2 separate regions of the Homo sapiens genome follow, and region 1 is linked to region 2. The links are contacts of gene promoters, found by promoter capture Hi-C in human tissues and cell types (Jung and others, 2019). All regions are on one chromosome and are shown on one strand. The core of a region is centred on a gene start or on the middle of the fragment in contact, and the rest is flanking DNA. Distances in the headings are between cores, read along the strand shown. Region 1 overlaps LOC102723490 (a long non-coding RNA gene). Region 2 holds the start of SERTM1 (serine rich and transmembrane domain containing 1).

Region 1 (5,603 bases), core at 1,191-3,690, 61 kb after region 2:
ATTAAAAGAGAAATCTAAGAATGTTTTCTTTGCCTAGTGAAATGTGCAACTTCCTATAAAAATATCCCAGGCCCAGGCCTTCAGTTTTCTCACGCAAGGACACCTGGCCTTTGGAGAGGTTATGGTACTCTGGTGACAGAAGAGTCTATAACATAAAGAACCCAGTACTCTCTGGGGAGTTTTTTACTCTGAGAATACACAGCAGTTTTCTCCCACTTACAAATACTCTAAGACTGTGCCACCCAGCCTGGTAGCCACGAACCACATATGACTCTTAATCACCTGAAATGGGGCTAGTCTGAATGAAGATGCGCTAGAAAGGTAAAATACATACCAGAACATACCAGATTTCTAAGACTGTTCAAAAAAAGAAAAATATTTTATTAATAATGTCCATATCGTTAATATGTTAATATGATAATATCCTATCATTGATGATATATTAGGTTAAATAAAATATGTAACTAAAATTCATTTTACTAGTCTTTTTTTAACGTGGCCTCTAGAAAATTTAGAATTACATGTGCCATGCAGTGTATTTCTATTAGACATTGAAAACCCACTCTGTTCTTTACCAGTGAGGTCAGACTGAACCCAGCAGTCTTGCTGGCTCAGAAGGTCTGAGCTGGAACTTCAGATGTTGGATACTGAAATGAAGGGTTGCACCACAGAGCAACAGAAGGATTTATCCAGGTATCAGGCAAAGAAACAGACAAATAAATCACGAGGGCCAGGTTTCCATGAGTGTTTCAGGAGGAAAGTTGTGGTTCTGAAAGTGTGGTCTTTAGACCAGCAGCGTTGCTCATGGACTCACTGAGCATCACCATGGAACTGGTCGGACATGCCAATCCTCAGGCTTCATCCTCCACCGAGTCAGAAATTCTGGGGGTGGGAGCCAGTAGTGTGGGGTTTAACAAGCCCTCTAGGTGATTCTGATGCACCCTCAAATTTTAGAACCCCTGTTATAGCTCATTGAAAATCCCACCTGCCCTGTAGGTTGGAATTAGTTAACACTCCATTTCACAGGTGATATAGTTTGGATGTTTGTCCCCACTCAAGTCTCATGTTGAAATGTAGACCCTCATGTTGGAGGTGGGGCCTGGTGGGAAGTGTTTGGATCATGGGGGTGGATCCCTGATGAGTGGCTTAGGCCATCCCTTGGTGATAAGTGAGTTCACATGAGATCTGGTTGCTTAAAGGTGTGTGGCACCTCCCCCTACCTTTCTCTTGCTCCTGCTCTCACCATGTGACGTGCCTGCTCCCCCTTCACCTTCTGTCATGAGTACAAGCTCCCTGAGGCCTAATCAGAAGCAGATGGCAGTTCTATACTATCTGTACAGCCTGTGAACTGTGAGCCAATTAAACCTCTTTTCTTTATAAATTACCCAGTCTCGGATATTTCTTTTTTTTTTTTTTTTTTTTTCTGAGACAGAGTCTTGCTCTGTCGCCCAGGCTGGAGTGCAGTGGCGCCATCTCGGCTCACTGCAAGCTCCGCCTCCTGGGTTCACACCATTCTCCTGCCTCAGCCTCCCGAGTAGCTGGGACTACAGGTGCCCACCACCATGCCCGTCTAATTTTTTGTATTTTTAATAGAGACGGGGTTTCACCGTGTTAGCCAGGATGGTCTCTATCTCCTGACCTCGTGATCCACCTGCCTCGGCCTCCCAAAGTGCTGGGATTACAGGCGTGAGCCACCACACCCGGCCCAGGTATTTCTTTATAGCAATGCAAGAACAGCCAATACAACATGTGAGGAAACTGCGTGATAAAGAAAGAAATAAAGAAACTTGCCCTTATTACACAGCTATTAAGTGGCAAAGAAATCAAGCTTTCAACCCCAATGTTTATAATCCTAGAGTTGATACTCTTTATCAGATGTCAGCTCAATGAGAAAAACAAAAAGTCAGAGGAGAAACAAATCTAGATAAGTGGCTGTTAAACTTCATAGGGACTCTAACCAGAAAATTTGAGGACGCTCTAGTTGCCTCCCTGCAAAAATGCACTTTTATACAACACTGATACAATTTCAGGCTGCCCCTTGACCCATTGGAGGTTCTGCCTGCAGCCAATTTTATCATGCCTAATTGAGAGCTCCAGATTGGATGATGAGTCACTCTTCATAGTGAAGTAGTACTCCTTACACGAATAGGGTTTCATGTGTCTAATGCTTCCTACTAAACATATACTGAAGGAAAAAAGTTGATCTGAGATATTACAGATATTATTGTCTTAGCTGCCTTAACCAAATGCCGTAGACTGGGTGGCTTAACAACAGACACTTAGTCCTCACGGTTCTGGAGGCTGGAAGTCTGAGATCCTGGAGCCATCATGGTCAGGTTCTGGTGAAGGCTACCTGCCTGGTGGCAGATGGTACACTTCTTGCTGTGTCCTCACATGGCAGAGAGCAAGCTCTGAGGCCTCTTCCTCTTCTCATGAGGACATAATCCATCAGGAGGCCCACTTTTATGACCTCATCTAAACCTAAAGATCACCCAGAGCCCCCATCTCCAAATGCATTGGGGGTTAGAGCTTTGACATATGAATTTAGGGAGGTAAAATTCAGTCCATAGCAGATGGATGAGAACTATGTTTCTTCTGTTTGCTTAAGAAGGAACAAAATACTCATTAGTGGCTTATAACCCAACTGGCTCTAAGTGGAGGGAGGTACCAGACTGATTTTGAAATCTGCAAAGGGCAGGGTCTCCATGGGAAGGGAGGGCCACAGACATTGGTCACACTGAGCAGTAATGTCAAAGCACTGCTACAAAACAGGTAAAGGACCTTGCTAATACCGTCTGTCTTTCCTGTTTGAAGATGATACTAATAACAGTAATTTCTACCTGTGATAGCTTTGGGAGCAAATTAGGCTGAAAAAATTGACATATAATGAATGTCCCTTTGTGTTTGTAGTACAGAGGGTATTGGCAGAGCCTGAAGCTGTTTGATAAGCACAGCACAGCTCACTATTAACTTTAGCTGGAACATTTATAATTTAGTCTCAGACAATGGCGATCAAGTGCTTGGGGATGGGGATGAAGGCGAGGAGGCTAGTCTCTTTTTATCAAGCTGCAAAAAGAAAGCTAAACACTTATTCCTTCATAAAAGGAAAAAATAGGTTATCTTGAAATGTATTGGCAATTCTTTATTGTTTCTTTAATAAGTAATTCTACATTTAAGAAGATAGGAAAATATTTAAGGGTGACTACATACCCGCTGTTCATTTGGCATTTATTTAATGCCTTGAAAGAATAGGCATTCTCATATAAATGCGTTGAGTTCTGAAAGTTTGTACTTAGGCAAATAAAATTTTCCATAAAATTATAAATAATTTTATGTTATACATAATTATCTATATTCATATAAATACATTCATATATGTGTGTATATGTGGCTTTTTAAAAGTATTAAAATATATTTTAATTTTTTGCTTTTGGAATCATCCTGCAAACCTAACCATTATTTATGACATTTTTATGGGGGAAATGCAATTAATGTTAGAAACCTATATAAACCTACCCCTGGCAAAAGAGGAGACCTTCACTATCTTCTATGACTCTGTAAAGCAGAGAAGGGATTTTTGTTCTCCACCAGCTCTGGTGGAAGCAGTTTTCCTTTCCTCTGGCAGCTATTTTTGCAAGTGGAAAGGAATTCGCCCCCTGGTGGTGACCACATATTAACATGAAATATTTATAAATCGAGTTTTTATGTGTTACAAACTGCTTATGCATGCCTTCATTTGCCCACCCTGAGATTTTCTTGTAAATATTTATATGTCCCAAAGCTTTTAGGGCATCAGCTCGCATCCGAAAGAGGCTCTGCAAGTTTTCTGTGTAATTATTAGGGACATCAACTCTTTACTAACTATTGAACAAGAATAGATGACTTATTCTTGCAAGCTCCCAGGATATAATCATAAGCAAAAGTGTTTTTCTTCCAATATGAGTGCACCATCATAACTGTGCTCTAAGGTGGGTCCCAATAGTATTACTAAATTTCTAACAAACTAGTCCCTAAGTTGGAATTTCTGTAACACACACACACACACACACACACACACACACACACACGTTCTATCTATCAAATTTGATGGACAAGGTAAACTGATCTTGTCATTCCCCAGATACAATTTTCACTGCCCACAATTTTCACATTGCCTTTTTTATGGTCTTCCTTTAGCCGTGCTCTCTAGAAGAAATTCCCTTTTTCTTTCTATATTGCCTTAAATTTCATGGTCCAACATCCCCTTTCTCTAGCAACATGAAGTATTTATTCTTTCTCTTTCCTGAGATATATTGTGAACCTAGAAAATGCAAAGCTGAATAATGTGATCTCTCCTGTATTAAAAAAGGAAAAAGAACTTTTCTGCCTGAATTACCCTGCCTGGACTATATAATTAGCACCTTCTTATACATTATCTTGTCTCTAATTTTTAATTCCACACATTTCAAAACTTTATTATATAATGTCATATTAAGGTATTTCTAAATTAGAGTATATGCTCCTTCTGAGCAGAAAAATTTCTTACGCATCTTATACGGGTTGTGCATGCCTAATCTGAAGACCCAAATTCTGAAACGCTCCAAAATCTGAATGTTCTTGGGCACTGACTTGACACCACAAGCAGAAAGTTCCACACATAAGTACTTAGCACAAGCTTTGTTTTATGCACAAAATATTAAACATATCATATAAAATTACCTTCAGGCTATGCATATAAGGTGTATATGAAATGTAAATAAATTTTGTGTTTAGATTTAAGTCCGATCTCCAAGATATTACGTATATGCAAATACTCAAAATCTGAAAATACTGAAATCTGAAACACAGTCACAAGCATTTTAGATAAGGGATACTCAACTTGCACTTAATTTTTCATTCATTACTTCACTTCAGGGATTGTTTACCACATTTGTTCATTCATTTATCTAATTCACTCATTCAGTTAGCATCTATGAAACGTGAATGAGACACTGTTGATATCATTGGGTCCATGGGGCCTAAGGGCTATTTCCATAATGTGTGCTCAACAAATACCCGTGGAGTAAATAACCCACTCTCTTACCCAGTCCTGATTTTCATTATCTGTGAGCTGGAAAGCTAGTTGCTATGAAACAGAACAAAGGTAGCTGCAAAAAGATGTTTTCCGACATCCTGATATAATGACCCTGACTCTGCCTCAGTTAAATACAAATCCCTTCTGTCTAGCTGAGATCTCAGTATATGTGTCCACCAAGTGGCCTCACGGGAAAAGCAGGAACCCTGAGGAATAGAAGTGGTGATATTTGTGCCTGAAAGCGTCTGCCTTTCACTGTGAATGAAGCATGAGGCAGTGTCATCTGCCGAGAGAAAGGAAATGTCATCAGGGAGGTTGGGGCTTAAGGAAGAGGGAAGAATCCCTGGGAAGAAAGCAAGAGGCTGTTCCCTGGAGAATCGCCAAAGGATAGCTTTGAGCATTTCACTGAGATTGGAGACCAAAAGTATGTGGTGACAACGACCTGTGATTTCCTCCAACAACATTCAGTACCTGCTTCAAGGGACAGAAAAGGCCAGTTTTACATTAACCATGGTCAGAACACAGCAGGGTGATACCACTGGCAGAAATG
Region 2 (6,236 bases), core at 2,936-5,435:
TGATGGTTTTATAAATGGGAGTTCCCCTGCACAAGCTCTCTCTTGCTTGCCACCGTGTAAGACGTGACTTTTCACCTCCTTGCCTTCCACTATGATTGTGAGGTTTCCCCAGCCATGTGGAACTGTGAGTCAATTAAGCCTCTTTCCTTTATAAATTACCAAGTCTTGGGTGTGTCTTTATTAGCAGCATGAGAACAGACTAATACAGAGGCAATAAAGGAGTTTTGTACCAGATCAAACAGAGGATGTTATCAAGGCACCCTACCCTAAGCCAAAAAGATAAAGAGAAAGAAGAATTACAGAACCACTGAGTTTACAAAGTAAGACCACAAAACACATTTACATGTTTTCCCTGTGTCATTTTTAAATGGCCAGTATTTTTTTTTTTTTGAGAAGTGCAAAGTGGCCCTGTTGACTTTGGCAGCTACCCAAAAGCCTAAAATCACTAGAGTTTACCCAATGTCACCCTGAGGAGGTAGGACACCCTCACACAAAAGCAGAGGGGTTGGGCAATCACTGATACTAACTGTAGTGGGTTGAATGGTGCCTCCCCCAAAATATATGTACATCTAGAACCTGTCAATGTGACCTTATTTGGAAAAAACAGTCTTTGCAGACGTAATTTAATTGAGAGTCTCAAGATAAGATCATTCTGGATTATGGTGGGCCCTAAATCCAATGAAAGTGTCCTTAGAAAAGAAGGGAAGAAGAAACATATCAGGGAGATGATTTGAAGTCAGAAGCAGGGACTGCAGCAATGCATCTACCTACAAGCCAAGGAACACCAAACATTTCTGAATGCTGAGAAAAAGGCATGCCCAGTAGTCCCCCTTTTATCTGAGATTTCACTTTCCACGGTTTCAGGTAACAGGTCTGTGATCTGAAAATATTCAATGGAAAATCCCAGAAATAAACAATTCATAAGTTTTAAGTCGCTACCATTCTGAGTAGTGTAATGAAATCTCGCACTGTCCTGCTTCATCCCGCTCGAAATATGAATCATCTTTGTCCAGTATGGATACCTCCTGTGGATATAATGGTGTATGCACAGTGTCTAAGCTCCCCACCCATTAGCCACTTAGTAGTCATCTTGGTTATCAAATTGGCTGTCATGGAATCACACTGTTTGTCTTCAAGAAAAGTTTATTTGACTTTGTAATGGCCTCAAAATACAAGAGTAGTGATACTGGCAAGTCGGGTATGCCAAAGAAAAACTGTAAAGTGCTTCCTTTGAGTGAAAAGGTGAAAATTCTTAATAAGGAAAGAAAAAACACACAGGCTGAGGTTGCTTAGATCTACAGTAAGAAGGAATCTTCTATTCGTGAAATTGTGAAGAAGGGAAAAGAAAGTTGTGCAGTTTTGCTGTCACACTTCAAACTGCAAAAGTTACAGCCTCTCATATACAGCATGGGATAAGAGCTTAGTTAAGATGAAAAGGGCATTAAGCTTGCAGGTGGAAGACATGAACAGAAATGTGTTCTGATGAACAGAACTGGGCTCACTACTATCTGTGGTTCTAAGCATCTACTGGGGACCTTGGAACACATACCCCATGAACAATGCGGGGACTTCTGTATTGGATTCTCTTAGAGCTTCCAGAAGGAATCAACCAACAATTTCATTTCTGGACTCCAGATCTGAGATAGAATACATTTCCGTTATTTTAAGCCACCCAGTTTCCGGTCATTTGTTAACTCCAGGAAACTATGGGAACTAAGAAACTAGGAAACTTAGGAACTAAACTAGGAAACTAAGTTTAGGAAATGTCAAGAAAAGCTTTATAAAGCACTTAGTAAAATTTGCTAAGTGCATAATGGAGCAGACTGTAGATGGATGTAAGGTAACTCATGAGAGTGGCACATGAACAGGTGAAATTCAGGAAGCCAATCCAAGTGTGCCTGGAAGGAAGTAGTTCTCTGAATCCACCCTCTTATAAAATAGACACCGAGGGAAAGAAAGCTTACCTTACCTTGTCACCAAAGGTAAGACAAGGAAAAGAAAACTGCTATACCAGTCTAAATAAAAAGACTGCCCAGCAATCAACAGTTCTTTTCCCCTCTCTGACAACTGCAGGATGTTGGCAGGGTTTCTCAATAGACAAACTGTATTAGAATCATGTAGAGTATGAGCCGGGCACGGTGGCTCATGCCTATAATCCCAGCATTTTGGGAGGCCAAGGCATGCCAATCACCTTAGGTCAGGAGTTCAAGACCAGCCTGGCCAATATTGAGAAACCCCGTTTCTACTAAAAATACAAAAATTAGCTGGGCGTGATGGTGGGCACCTGTAATCCCAACTACTTGGGAGGCTGAAGCAGGATAATTGCTTGAACCAGGGAGGTGGAGATTACAGTGAGCCGAGATCATACCACTGCACTCCAGCCTGGGCGACAGAGCAAGACTCCTCACAGAAGGATCACATCAGGCACAGAAGGATCCACATAGAAAAGATTCACACCCACCCACAATTGCCCTGGAGAAGGAAGGGGAGAGACAAAACAAACAAACAAACATGTAGAGTATGAATGAACCAGACAATAGGGTTGGGGCCTAGGAATCTTATGCACAAAGAAATTTTGAGGACCACTGTTTTGAAGGTCAACAGTTCTAACTGCCCCCCCATACACCTTAGTGTTTCAAAAAGTGAGTTGTGAGAACAACCAGTGATATTCAGAATGATTTTAGCATGGAAGACTTATGCCTTCATTTCATTGTGCATTAAAATATTAAATACAACTGGTATCTCACAAACCAATAATTTCATAGATATTATTGCTTACGATGAAGCCAAGTAAAAATCTAAGGTAAAATTTACTAAGTGCATAATGGAGCAGACTGTAGATGGATGTAAGGTAACTCATGAGAATGGCACATGAACAGGTGAAATTCAGGAAGCCAATCCAAGTGTGCCCGGAGGGAAGTGGTTCTCTGAATCTGCCCTCTTGACAACACAGCTCATTCCATCCTCCTGCATTTTACATCAGGCACAGAAGGATCCACATAAGAGAGATTCACACCCACCCACAATTGCCCTAGAGAAGGAAGGGGAGAGACAGAGAGCCTTTACTTATGTACCACGGAGCTTCAGAGTTAAGCCAGGTGCCCCTGCCTATCTCTACGTGGAGAACAATTGAACATGGGTGGAAGTAGCAGGCTCCTAGGAGCCGGGCCCTGGTGGGTGGCAGTATACGTGCATGTGTTGGTGGTCACTGAGACTTGGGTGGCCTGATTCTGTATTGTGCATGATTTGCTTTTCTGGCCACTAATAGGTCTCACGGTGAAGACAGCAGAACCAGATGGAGTAGGGGCTCAAGGAACAGGTAGCCACACCAACACTTCCCAGGAGTTCAGCCCTTTACAGGCCACAGAGCAACAATATTGTTGAATGTCAGAGTGAAACAGACCGCAGCCACCAAGTGATCGAAGTCTCTCATTTTCCAGCTGAAAAACAGGAATACAGAGAGAGAGTCTTCTGGTCAAGGTAGCAGCACTGACTGGTAACTGAAGTTGGTCGGATCAGTTAAAGCCTCCTTTTCCGGAGTTCTGTTACGATATATGACTCTCTACGCCAGTTCCCTAGTAGGGACTCATGACTGACTGTCTCCCTGGCAATGACAGAAACTCCAATCCTATTCGACTCATTTAATGATTTGGTATAGGATTCAGAGGCGCACGCGGCGAAGGCTGAGCAAGGGCTGTCTGTGGTTAAGCTCATCACAGGATGAGGCCATGCCCCACGCAACTCAGTCAGAGCTGGGCTTGCGATGATGCACCCAGAGTAGTTGTTTTGGGTGGGGGCTGCGAGGAACTCATAAAAGATGTAAGAGGAGGAGAAAGTTGGCAAGAAGTGGATGCTTTCATCTGCAGAGAAAGGCCCCTGAGCCCTAAAAAAACTGCCCTCCTCCCCACTCCCCCCTCCTCCCCCCGACACACAAAAAAGTTCACCCACTACACCTGCCTTCCCCAGATGGGCTCCCTGCGCAACGCCTCCTCGTCCTCCGAGATTTTCCAATGGTGGCGCAAGCTCCTCCCTCGCCCGAGCTGGGCGCCGTCCTAGAGCCAAGCGCCCGCTAGAGCCGAGACTAGGGGGCGGTGAGGAGTGGGACCCGCTCGCGGCCATTGGTTGTGCGGCCAGGAGGGGCGGAGGGACGACGCGCGGGCTGTGCGGGGCCGGCAGCCCGGATCCACTCCCGCTGCGCCTGCTGTCCGCCGTGCGCCCAGACTGCGCGCCGCGCCGCTGCGCCCAACATTCCCGAGGACGGCTTCGCGGGCGCGTATCGTCCAGACCGGAGCACCGCCCCACCGCTAGCGCAGGAGACCTGCCGGGGAAGTCGCGTGTCCTGACCTGCAGGTCAGTGAGGGAAACTTGCAGGGTCCCGAGCTCTGGGGGTGAACTTGCCCTACGCGGAGAGCGCCCCACTCCTTGCCTGGGGCGGCCTCGGGTCCTGGAGGCGAGCCGCCTCCCAGACTCTCCCCCGAGATCTGGGCTCCCGGAGATGTGGCTCCTTTCTGAGAAACACCCCCAAATCTATCCCTTTTGAGGTGTCCTTACTGTCCCGAGAAGCAATCGCAGCCCGGCTCTCCGAGTCTTGGGGTGACTCCACGGGCTGCAGGAGGAGCCGCGAGGGGCCCTGAGTGCAATGTCCTTGGCCCCGTGTTGACCTGCCTCGGTCCCAGACACTGGGAACCGGGAAGGTCTACCCTCGCTCTGCAAGGTGGATTCCTCCATGCAAGTGTAGACAGTTCTACACTTTGCAGAGTGTGTCTAGGTGCCTTCTGTTTGCTTTTGCCTTTGTGGTGTGTGGAGGGTCATTCTTGGGTTTGTTTTGCTCCTGTCTGATTTTCTAGGGTCATTTGCGTCCCTTCTCGGGAACGGGGACTCGCCATGCGCACACTGACAGCTGGCTTTGCACCTGCTAAGGCGCTGGAGAGTCTTTTCGCCCGTCTTAGGGTGGCCCTAAATCCGGGGAAGTTTTATGTGGCGCTGAACACTTGCGTTTCCCAGGGGCGTTTTCCCTAGCTCCCGGAAACCCAGTAGGTAACTGCGCCAGCGACCCTTCCCCTCTTCCCGGGTCTGATGAGACACTGGAATCCTGCCTTTCCCTGTCGAGGTGTGCGAATGATGGGCAAATTGCTTCAGTTCTGATTTAGGAAAGGGATATGTAATGTGCCCTCCTCCAGGGAGCAGAGGGATTCATTCACAGAAATATCTTGTTGAGGACCAGGATTGGGGCTATGCCTGCCCGCTTTCCTCCACCAGATGCCCGGGCTCCATCGGACTTGGGTTTGATCTCAGACTCTAGAGATGGGGTCTGTTTGTTAGTGTCCTTCATTTCCTCTCCCTGTTAATTTTTCTTCGGAAAATGTTCTGCTAAAGTAAGTACTTCAGTGTTCTTTGTGGTAAATGATGGGCTCCGATGTCTAGAGGACGTCTCAAAGCCATCGCATTTGGTACCGTCTGCACTACAGGTGCAAAGGGCGGGGAAACTGACAGCGTTACTGTCCTGGGGCGGACCCGCGGGACTACTCCCTAAGACGTTTCTCCTAGGTGCCTTCTCCTAGGTGCTTCCAGGATTCATTGTTCAGACAACAGCCTGTCAACAGGAAAAGAGGCACAAGTGACAGTCTTTTCTTAAAGGGTTTGTCTCTTAATGCAGTCTTGCGGAGCCCCATGCACCCTCTGAAAAAAACAATATTTAATTTGCTGAATTATACAACTAGTCTGGGTGTCTCAGCTTATTTGTGATCATGCCCATAGAGGTTCTTAAATATCTTTTTTGTAACTAAATTCTCTTCATTTTACTAAGTAGAGTAGTGTCTTTTCCCCCGCCACCACCACACTCAGAACACCGTTTTTAGTTGATCTGTAAAGCAAATTGCCTTTTGGAGGGCTTGTGAGTGAGGCTGCCTGGTCTCAGAGCCTCCCTCAGCCCATGCCCTAGTCACCTTTAAATGCTGGACATCGTAGGGCCGCCGAAGCCTCTGCCAACCTCAGAAGTAATCTGGAAATATTGAGATCCAGCACGTGGGTGGGATATTCCATTTTTGTGTTTTGGCTTTGAGGGGCTTATTATTTTTGATTCCTCTATATAAGGCAAAGTGCTTTGAAGAGCTGAACGCACACATTTATTGTTCTCATTAAAGAAACCTGTTGTAAGGTAAGATTGAGTCCATTCTCCCTTGCTGTTAGTTCGTTCAGTTCAACAGATTTTACTAGATGTCTACGATTTGGACAAG

Evidence for each region. The method cuts DNA at HindIII sites, captures the fragments that hold promoters and counts their contacts. A contact is called where the count stands out against the background at its distance.
Region 1: a contact is called between a fragment that was not itself captured here and the fragment with the promoter of SERTM1 in region 2, in 1 of the 25 tissues and cell types used here (hippocampus).

The regions. Positions count from the first base shown.
Region 1 is chr13:36,732,669-36,738,271 of GRCh38, forward strand. All of the region lies in intron 3 of LOC102723490 (a long non-coding RNA gene), which reads right to left. Among named protein-coding and RNA genes, the nearest start is that of SERTM1, 61 kb to the left of the region's middle. The HindIII fragment of the contact is 3,554 bases long and covers 664-4,217 here.
Region 2 is chr13:36,669,835-36,676,070 of GRCh38, forward strand. It overlaps SERTM1 (serine rich and transmembrane domain containing 1), which reads left to right and starts at 4,186. Exons shown (of 2, transcript NM_203451.3): 1 at 4,186-4,350. It overlaps LOC102723490 (a long non-coding RNA gene), which reads right to left. Exons shown (of 7, transcript XR_001749825.2): 7 at 5,511-5,593. The HindIII fragment of the contact is 7,784 bases long and covers 1,612-6,236 here.